Regions from separate parts of the Homo sapiens genome. Here region 1 is linked to region 2. The links are contacts of gene promoters, found by promoter capture Hi-C in blood cells and fetal thymus (Javierre and others, 2016). All regions are on one chromosome and are shown on one strand. Each heading gives the region's core, a stretch centred on a gene start or on the middle of the fragment in contact. The rest is flanking DNA. Distances are from core to core; before and after follow the strand shown.

Region 1 (5,186 bases), core at 1,806-4,305, 1.5 Mb after region 2:
CATGACCTTTCCTCAGTGTTATAAAGCCTATGCCAAGGAAAAAGGAAGGGTATGCCTTTGGGTGCTCCAGGTACACACCTTTCCAAAATCTTTCTCCAGCCAGCTGCTGCAGACAAAAATAAGACATTTCTGGGAAGATGAGGACTTGTTTCCAGGCCAGTACCCCAGTGGCCATCAGGTCTTGTGGCCCAAAAGCTACGCTTGCCTCTAGCTAAGTGCCTGGCATGGGCCCTTTCTGTGTCTCCCCAAGGTTGGGTACTGAGCTCCCTTCTTCACCATCTAGCCATAGTCTCGAACCTATGGGGAAGGAGGTTTTCTCCCCACCCTGGAAGAGAACAGATTACTGATTTCTGTTCTTTTGACTCTGAAAATTCTCTTTCTTAAAAAAAAAAAAAAAAAGTAAGATTGTTATTCCTACCATCTCTAGCTTTAATTATTTTTATTTTCACAAATGCCTTAAGGTCAGATAGTAGGAGTTTTGGCCTCCTTTCTTACCAAAATAGCATCATTATCACTGCTCTCCCATTATCTTATAAATATCTCCTATTTCCTTGAGGCACAGGCCACTCAGATTTGCCACCCATTCACTTGTGGTTTTCATCTATTACCTCTTGGACACTCCCCAACATCCCCTTTGCTCAGTTTTCCTCTCCACCTCTATTCTTGCCATTACACTGAGTTTCTTTAATGTCTGTATGTATACCCTATCTCACACCCTGAGCTCTCAATTCCAACCTGCACATGTCACTCAGCCCCCCTTGCACCCTTGCCATTACTTACAACCACTGCACCTCCAAAATCACTTATCCAAACATGTGGCTCCCTGACCACAACCTCTTATTTATCCTTCCACTTGCTTCTTCGACCACTCACCTATAACTATTCTTTGATATCATCATTACCTCCATTCATTGATTCCTCTGCATTCTCCATATTTACCAACTCTCTCCTATCTTCACATTCTTCTGTATCCAATTTAGATTCTAAGGTGTATCATTTCATTTTGGTGCTCAATAAATACCAACTGAAGAAATTAATCTGTTGGGGCGTGGTGGCTCACACCTGTAATCCCAACACTTTGAGAAGCCAAGGCAGGAGATCATTTGAGGCCAGGAGTTCAAGACTAGCCCGGGTATCATAACAAGACCCTGTATCTAAAAAATTTTTTAAAATAAAGAGAAATGAATCCTTGAATTTTAATATCCAATCAATCACTAAGTTCAGTAATGTAGTTCTTCCCATATCCACTGCCACTAAGCAACCATCATTTCTTTCACAGACTATTAACTAAATTCTCCAATCTATTTTCCATCTTGCTGACAGATGTAACTTTCAAACTAGACATCTAACCACTCCCTTTTTATTTAAAATTATTCGATCACATCCCATTGCTGTTATGATCAAGAATAAAATCCACAACACAGACTAAAAGGGGCTGCATGCCCTGATTTTCACCTAACTCTTGAATCCAATTTCCCACCACTCTGCCCCTCACACTCTGCCTTCCAACCACATTAGCCTCCTTCCAGTTCTTCTAATACAGCAAGCTCCTTCACATTTCAAAGTCTTCACATTTTCTTCTCACTGTAAGGATATCTTTGTCCCCCTTTTTCATCCATCCAACCTTAACTACTTAATTTCTATTCACCCTTCTTATTTCAACTCAAATGTCACTTCCTCAGGAATCTATCACTAACCCCTAAGACTTCTTAGATCCTCCTGTTACATCACCCTGTTCTTTTCCTTTGACACATTTATTATAGTTTATAATTGTTTTTGTGATCATGTCTGTTTCTCCACTAGATTATAAACTCCACAAGGGTAGGAACCAAGTCTATTTTGCTCACCACTGACTCCTCAGAACGAGGTCCAATATACAGTGTGTTCAATAAATATTTAAAGGAAACTTCTCTCCATAGTAGTGTTTCTCAACTGAGTCTGTGAATCTTTTTAAAAATATGCAGGTCTGTACTGTACCTCTGAAGATTATGATTCGGTCAGTCTATGGTATATACTAGACTGGAACAGTTTTTCACAAGTTCCACACGACTCTGATGTACTTCCAGTGTTGAGATCTACTATTCCACAAAATCAGAGACTATCAGAACTGAAAGAGACTTCTAAAATCATCTGCTCCAGCCCTCTCTTTTCACAGATGAGAAAACTGACTGACTCCTAGCCTATCCTGTTTTCACCTGTATCACTAAATTGTCCTTTCACATAGATTTTTCCCTTCAAATGCCTCCCATTAATTTATTTTACATGACAAACTGAAGTACCTTTGCTGATATCCTCAATACCTTACAACAGAAAATGCATTATTCACTATCTACATGGATATTTGAAAACACAGTGTTCCATTACAACACATATTGTAAATAACTACTTTTTTCACATCGTATTATCATAGGAGAATTCAAACTTCAAAATGTTGCCCTCATAGTTATTCCAGGAAAAACTAATTTTGGAGTGTGTAAACTGTTTTACTTTCCATGTTGAATAATCTGACTAATTTTCCTTGATAAAAATCAAGATTATAGCAATGAATTTTCTAAAACACTTATAATATGAACAATAAGTTCAAGAAATGAAGAAAGAAGAAAAGCACTGCCTTTTCCTTTTTCATAAACCATTTATGAGTTCCCAATATTCTTACCTGAAGTACTTGGGAGCTCAAACTGTTTGGAGCCTAAATAATTCTACTAAGTATTTTCAGTTCTTGTTTTGGTTCCTTCTTAACCAAGTTAAGTGAGAACTTCCAAGGGACTTCACAGAAGTAAAAATGCCCCCTAAATAATCAATGGCACTGTTCTTTCGTTTGACAAATATGTATTCACGATCTACTAAGTGCAAGACTCCGTAACCCTGGGTCACTGCAAAGTAGGTATTATCAGGGTTCAACTAAAGAAACAATTGATAGAGGGGCAAATGCAGTTTTAGAGAAGATAAAGTGGGGTGTGGGATTGGTTCAAGCTTCATAATAACGCTGCAAAGGCACAGCTTCCCCTATCAAGAAACAGCAGCACGTAGCAGGGCAAACAAATGTGCAGATGGCTCCAAGCTCTTTATTTAATGTGCACTGTATGACTCAACTATCTGGTCCTATGCTTACTGCTGTGGACTCTTCTCTAAGCTTTTCTTCATTCATTTACTCATTCATTCAACCACTATTTACTGTAAAAGACTCCGTTCTAGTGTGTTGCTGGGAAAACATCGGTGAATAAAATATGCAAAGCATCAGTTTTCCAGGAGCTGACTTGGGGAGGAGGAGGAATAAAACGAGGGAGAAGCAGAGTTCAAGAGACAAATGAATGGGCAGGACATGATAATTTGGGATGGGGACAAGAGCTGTGTGGAAAAAAACAGGATGAGGTTGAGGGGGAGATTACGAACCACCACACTTGTTAAGTATTAACATTACTCCCACCTCCACCCTGAGTTCTCACAGCACTTACCATTCTGCACTGTAAATACCAGCCGGCAGCAGACTTGCAGCCTGCGCGACTATGTAAGCCAAGAGTAATCTGAAAAACTATCCTTTTCCCTTGCCTAGGGGAAATTTACAAACGTAAATATGTGTAAATTAATATACAAGCTAATATACACGTTGACGAACGGACGAAATGGTTGAAAGAACGAACTCGCAATGAACTACAACACTTTCTCCGGTCAAAGTAAAAGCCATTCGCTCCAGAGCCCCAAGTAAGCCACAAGTTGTACATTGTAGGAGACAACAGTCCTCAACAGCAGCTCAGGTTCCAGCACCTCCCTCCGGGCGCCAGAACTACGTCAACACAAATATCACCTGCGGGCGCGAGCTAGCCCAGAAAACCGGTGCTAGAAGGGCCGCTCCGCGCCACCCGGCGGATTCCTGCAACAGAGTTTCGAGGCAAGAAGTTTCGAAGAGGGGGCCACGAACCCCAGCTCTCCGGCCCTGCTCCACCCCCCAAATAGATTTCTCTCCCGCCTCCCGCTTAACTCCGTCGGCGCCGGAGGGATCGAGGCAGGGAAGGAGGCCTACACATGGCCGCCCAGGCCCACAGAGGCCCAAGGGAAGTAGGCTAAGCAGCCAGGCCAAGGAGAGGTTGCGTTTTCAGGGAAAAGGCGTCTCCAAAAGCACTCACCCCAGCGCCTCCAGTGTGTCCAGCACGTCTCCCTCCATCGTCGGTTGGGGACCCGGCTCCGGCCCTCTCATGGTCCTTTGGCCCAGAGCTGTTCGGCGCTCTAAGTAGCCCGCCGGAAACTAGCGTCACCGCGCCAAGGTTCCGGTCCGGGTCTGGCCGGTAACTGCCTGAGAGCACAGCTGAAGAAGGGCGCAAAGGTTCCCAGCCCCGAGGCAATAAACACTTCATAGTGCCTAAAACCGCTGCGTGTAACGATAATAATTTTTTAAAAGAATAGTAGAAATAATAAATAATAGTAATAAAGAGTTCTCTGTGTTGGGACTTTTCTGTGTGTTCAAATAAATTTTAGCAAATATCGTGGTATCGGGTTGATCTCAACCTATCCGATTCCAGACCTTTTTAATAACAGAAATCTGAAATAAAATTATAATTATCTTCAGCTAAAATTAGTAACTAATATCACATGCCTACACATATAATTTTTAAATCAATATACACGACGATGCTTCAACTTGAAGGAAAAAATGAAGTAATTTATAACAAGGTAATATTTTTCTCCTTATGAAATGCGGAAGACCAATGAAGTGATCAGATGCTTGCATCTATCTATGTAGAATCCCCTCAACTGCATATTCAGATGATGTGCTTCATTGCTGACAAAGCATTAGTTGTATAAGCAACAAACATACCGCCAGCAAAGTAAGGTAGTTGATGTGGTTTTCCAAAATTGTGGCGAATTCTCTGTAAAGTTCCAAACAAACAAAACATAATATACCCTCTGTGTACTATCCATGAAGAATTCAATCTCTTATCTAAAGGATTTAAAAAATGTATTTTAGGGTTCATATGTAAAAGGTACTAAGAGTATAAGGTTAGATCATTATTAGCAGGCATGTCACCTACATGAATACTCTAGCAGAACTGTTGGAAATCCTGCATGAAGTATAACTATTGATCCCTTGTATGGACCTGTCCCTTCCATTGCAGACTACATAGCATTCGTAGCCCCAGTCCAATAAAGACCAGTAATGCTCTCGCCTTCCTAATTATGGTTACAAACAA
Region 2 (5,467 bases), core at 580-3,079:
AAGTTCCCCAGTCACCAACTTCTCTGTCATGTTAAGGGGAATAATTTATATTTTTACCATTTCAGGTTAAAAATAACTTCATATTATTAAGCATTAGAAAAGTAAGCTCCCTGAGGGCAAGGATTTTTGTCTGTTTTGCCCACAGCTGTATTCCTAATGCCTAAAACAAATATTTAATGAAGGAAGAAGCACCCTGAGTTTGAGAGAGAATATTTTGTCCTGATAGCTCCAGAAGATGGTATTTCTTGAGGAAATCCTGGATGTGTAGATAGAGCAGATGTTGTGAAATGCCAAAGTTAAAAGCAGATGAAGAGGCCAGGCGCGGTGGCCCACACCTGTAATCCCAGCACTTTCAGAGGCCAAGGTGAGAGGATTGCATGAGCTCAGGAACTTGATACCAGCCCGGGCAACAGAGCAAGACTCTGTCTCTACAAAAAATTAAAAAAATTAACCAGGTGTAGTGGCATGTGCCTGTAGTCCCAGGTACTTGACAGGCTGAGGCAGAAGGATTGCTTGAGAATAAGCTGCAGTGAGCCGTGGTCATGCCTCTGCACTCCAGCTTGGGAGACAGAGCAAGACCCTGTCTCAAAAAGAAAAAAAAAAAAAGCAGATGAAGTTAGAACTATGTTTTAAATGATAATATGATAATATTCAGAAATAGTTTGGTAGATCAACTCTTCAAGGATGGGGAAAAAACTGTCAGTATAAATACTTTATAACGTGCCTTAATTTCCAGACAAAAAGGCAAAATATTATTTTAAACAAAATGCCATTTTAAAAGGTCTAGAGCTAGAGCAAGCTGGTCTAACCCGAGGCCCATGGGCCGCTTTGAATGTGGCCCAACACGCATTCGTAAACTTTCTTAAAACATTGAGGTTTTTTTGCGAATTTTTTTTTTCTTTTAGGTCATCAGCTATCCTTAGTGTTAGTGTATTTTGTGTGTGGCCCAGGGAAGCCAAAAGATTGGACACTCCTTCTCTAGACTCAGTCTAGAACCCTCTCTCTACTACAGCTAAGATGAATGTGTGCTTTATTCTGAGCTAAATGTCTTAGAGGAAGGTGCAGAGGTATGGAAAGTTCCTCCATACCGGAAAACACAGTGAGGATGCCTGGGGAGTACAGAGGGAATTATGTGGCGTGCAGATTTGAATGCATGGATGAGACTTGAGAATTCTGATTGAGGACGTAAGGCCTGTGCGAGAGCCCAAAAAGCGTTCTCAGAACAAAGTAGCAAGGGGCGCGTATGAATTGCTGTGGTATCATCCGCAAGGGCTTTCAGAGGGGAAAAAGGACAAGGTTGGAAGGAGGCAGTTATGTTATGGGATGTAGGCAGGAATAAGAAGCAGTGCCAGGTAAGAGGGAGGAATCCAGGGGGATTCCTCTGGGGAAATCATGGGGAAAGGACTGTAGAAGAATTCGGCCTAGGTGGGATTCTGCAGACCAGCTGCAGGTGCAAGGACTAAAGTGAGCATGGGTGGAACCTAAGGGATGAAAAGACTGCAGGATCCTAAAGCGGCGGCCCAATCTGGAAGTGTCCGGGCTTTGGCCCAGGGCCCGGGGAGGCCAGGGCACGCCAGCCCGGGCCTGACAAGCCACGTTCCTACCGGTCCGCAAGCGTCCGGCCGCAGGTCTTGGAAGTCCGCGCCGTAAATGGCCTCCAGGGCCTGTAGCTCGTGGTCCTGTCGTTGCGGGTAGCTCTCCGGAGGCTCGTCCCGGCCGCGCCCGGGGGCCCCACGGCCCCCAGCCATGGCAGCGCTGCGCCCAAGGCAGGGCGGCCTTGCCTGGGCGGCGGTGGGCCCCCGGCAGCCTGCGGGGCGGGGCTCCGCGCTGGGGACGGGCTATGGGCGGTGTTCCACGCTGGAAACGGGCTCGTGGGCGGGGTTCCGCGCCGGGGACGGGCCGTAGGCGGAGCTCCGCGCCGGGAGCTAGCTCCGGAGGCTCCAGAAGCCCAGGCGAAGGAAGAAGGCAGGGGGACAGCTTTGCCCACATCCTGCTGGGGGAAGGGGAGCAAAGGAACTCCACGAACTTAAGAAATGAATCACAGATAGGAATGAAAACGCCACATTGTATAGTTTTCACGAAACAAGTATCTTTAACAGAAGTGCTTGCTGGAACTTCTCCACCCTGGCATGGCTAGTGCGGGAAACTCTTTTTTCTTTTTTTTGGCAGAGTTTCGGCTCTTGTTCCCCAGGCTGGAGTGCAGTGGCGCGATCTCGGCTCACTGCAACTTCCGCCTGCCGGGTTCACGCGATTCTCCTGCGTCAGCCTCCAGAGTAGCTGGGACTACAGGCGCGCACCACCACGCCCGGCTAATTTTTCTATTTTTAGTAGAGATGGTGTTTCACCATGTTGGCCAAGATGTTCTCGATCTCCTGACCTTGTGATCCGCCCGCCTCGGCCTTCCAAAGTGCTGGGATTACAGGCATGAGCCACCGCGCCCGGCCGGGAAACTCTTAAAGGGCAGACGTCGATGGGTTCTGAGGTCACTTCTAATTTCACCTTGTACCTTCCCAGAACAAGACTACCGGGAGTAAAAATTGTGACCCCCCCCACCCTCCTTCCTCCCACTTTAGTACCCCCAAACTTATTCTCTGAGCCACAGATTCAACACCCTCATTATGTTCTCTGTCTCTACATTCCCCAGCTTTGGGGATCTCCACTACCACCTTGCAAATTCAATTGAAAACTGTCTTTCCACTCAGGCATCTTTATGAGCTACCTTCCCATGAAGAGAATCATGTTCCCTTCCCAGTTCACTCAGTGTGAATTTAGGGAGTCTTTGTGTTATATCCTGCCTCAAGTCGTCGTTTTTCAAGTTTATAAAATAATAACCTGTCTACCCAGACATTGTTATTGCACTTCATCTTCAGTAACTTACTAATGCTGCATGTCCATTTCGAATAATCCTATTGTACTAACCCAAGTTAGGTTTAAGTGACGTTTCTTCTGTCTACCTTGCTTACTCCTCCACTGTTCACTAAATAATGATTGTGTAAATTCCTTGCTGCCATCTATCCACTCATTTCTGGCCAGATAACACAAATGCACTAGCTTGACCCAAGGCCAATTTAAATCATCATCTTCCCTCTGCTGGAGACCCGTTCCTTCTCCAGTGATCTCTGACTAGGTAAATGGCACCATTCAACTGAGTGTGATTCTGAATTCCCTTTCTCTCAACTCACATCCAAATAGTCACCACTTCTGTCCATCCACTACACTCTAACCCATTGCCACTAACTTAGTTCAGGCTACTGTCACCAATTCCCTGGGTTACTTCAATAACTCTCTTAATTAGTCACTGTCTTCATTCTTGCCCCACATTAAGCCATTCTTCCTATTGCAGCCAGAGTAATGTTTCTAAATTGCAAATATGGCCATTGCACTCTAATCCTTAAAATTACTCCATTTCTCTATTGGTCTTTAAAAAAATTCTTTTAAACCTATATTTATGAAAATGTCAAACATACTTAGAAGTAAACTCCTCTGTACTCATCATCCAGCTTCAACAACCATAGATATTTTGTCAATTTTATTTCATCTCTTCTCTCCATCCCTCAGGAGTGTTTTTTTTAAGTCTCAATCATATCATTTTAAAAAATAAATACCTAAGGATATATCTCTAACTAGAAAAGGAACCAACATAACATATTACTAATCTTATACCCTAAAAATGTAACCCTTTGGCCAGGGACAGTGGCTCACACCTGTAATCCCAGCACAAGGTGGAGGATCACTTGAGGCCAGGAGTTTGAGACCAGCCTGGGCAACATAGCGAGGCCCCATCTCTACAAAAAATAAAATAAAAAATTAGCTGGACGAGGTGACATGTAGTCCCACCCTCAGGAGGCTGAGTGGGAGGATTGCTTGAGCCCAGGAGTCCAAGGCTGCAGTGAGCTGTGATTGCACCACTGCACTCCAATCTGGGCAACAGAGTAAGACCTTGTCTCTTAAAAAAAAATTAACAATTTCTTAGCATCGTTTAATACCTAATCTATGTTCAAATATTTCCATTGTGTAAAATTAGAATCTATACTGGACGCTGGACCTATAAAAGATATAATTAAAACAAACAGCAAAATTTGAAAGGAATCTGTGGATTACATGGCAGTATTATACCAAATGCAGCATTAAGGGGGCAGTGACGTATTAAATATGCAGTTAGCTCCCAAATGATTCAGGAAAAAGAAGAGAGATGATGCTAAATCAAATGTAGAATGTTGAACATTGGAGAATTTAGGTGAAGGATATATGAGAGCTCTTTGAGTGACTTGAAAATTTTATGTAAGTTGGAAATTATTTTAAAGTCAAAGTTCAAAGCAAAAAAAATAAGAAACTGTCAAAGTGTTTTCCAAAGTGGTTGTACCACTTTATATTCCCATCAGTTTATGGGAGTTCCAGTTGTTCTACCTCTTTGCCAGTAATTGGTATTGTAATGTTTTTAATCTTAAACATAGTAATTGGTGCTTAGCAGTATCTCAGTGTGTCTTAACTTGCATTATCCTAATGATTAATGATGTTGGGCATCTTTTCATGTGATTATTTTCCATTCATATATCGTCTGTCTTCTGTTTTTATTCACATCTTTGGTGCATTTTAAAAATTTTGTTTTTGTTTTCTTATTAACTTTTGAGAAATATTTATATATTCTGGACATGTATTTTTTTTTTTTTTTTTGAGATGGAATCTCACTCTGTCACCGAGGCTGGAGTGCAGTGGTGCGATCGCAGCTCACTGCAACCTCTGCCTCCCGGGTTCAAGCAGTTCTCCTGCCTCAGCCTCCCGAGTAGCTGGGATTACAGGCATATGCCACCACGCCCAGCTAATTTTTGTAGTTTTAGTAGTGACGGGGTTTCACCATGTTGGCCAGGCTGGTCTTGAACTCCTGACCTCGTGATCTGCTCGCCTCAGCCTCCCAAAGTGCTGGAATTACAGGTGTAGGCCACTGCACCAGGCCGGACATGTCTTTTATCAGATATGTGACAGGCAAAAATATTCACCCAGTCTGTGGCTTGCTTTTTCATTCTCTTAACTGTATTTCAAAGAGCATGTTTCTTACTTTAGAGGACATTTAATTTGTCATTTTTTTCTTACATGAATTATGTTTTGCAGTCATATCTAAGAAATATTTGCCTATCCCAAGGCCAAAAAGGTTTTCTTCTATGTCTTCATCTAGATAGTGTTAGATTTTACCTTTTGGCCTATCATCCATTTTAGTTAAAAACTTAAGCATATACCTACTATATGAAACAGCAATTCCATCCCAGGCATTTACCCAAGAGAAACAAAAGCGTATGTCCATACAATGACTTGTATGTAAATATTTGTAGCACCTTAATTTGTAATATCCCCAAACTGGAAACAAACCAAATGCCCACCAACACAAGATGGACATATTGAAGTATAAACAAATTGAGGTATATCAATACAATGAAATACTATTCAGCAATAAAAAGAAATACATTATAGA

The links. The method cuts DNA at HindIII sites, captures the fragments that hold promoters and counts their contacts. A CHiCAGO score of 5 or more calls a contact.
Region 1: a fragment that was not itself captured here is called in contact with the fragment with the promoter of EIF2AK4 in region 2 in 1 of 17 cell types (non-activated CD4 T cells); the score reaches 5.9 in non-activated CD4 T cells.

Annotation. Positions count from the first base shown.
Region 1 is chr15:38,453,171-38,458,356 of GRCh38, reverse strand. It overlaps FAM98B (family with sequence similarity 98 member B), which reads right to left and starts at 4,230. Exons shown (of 8, transcript NM_173611.4): 1 at 4,125-4,230. The coding sequence starts at 4,195. RefSeq lists enhancers at 3,813-3,912, 3,973-4,082. The HindIII fragment of the contact is 160 bases long and covers 2,976-3,135 here.
Region 2 is chr15:39,930,477-39,935,943 of GRCh38, reverse strand. It overlaps EIF2AK4 (eukaryotic translation initiation factor 2 alpha kinase 4), which reads right to left and starts at 1,829. Exons shown (of 39, transcript NM_001013703.4): 1 at 1,605-1,829. The coding sequence starts at 1,748. RefSeq lists a silencer at 1,547-1,956 and an enhancer at 1,977-2,116. The HindIII fragment of the contact is 8,824 bases long and covers 1-5,467 here.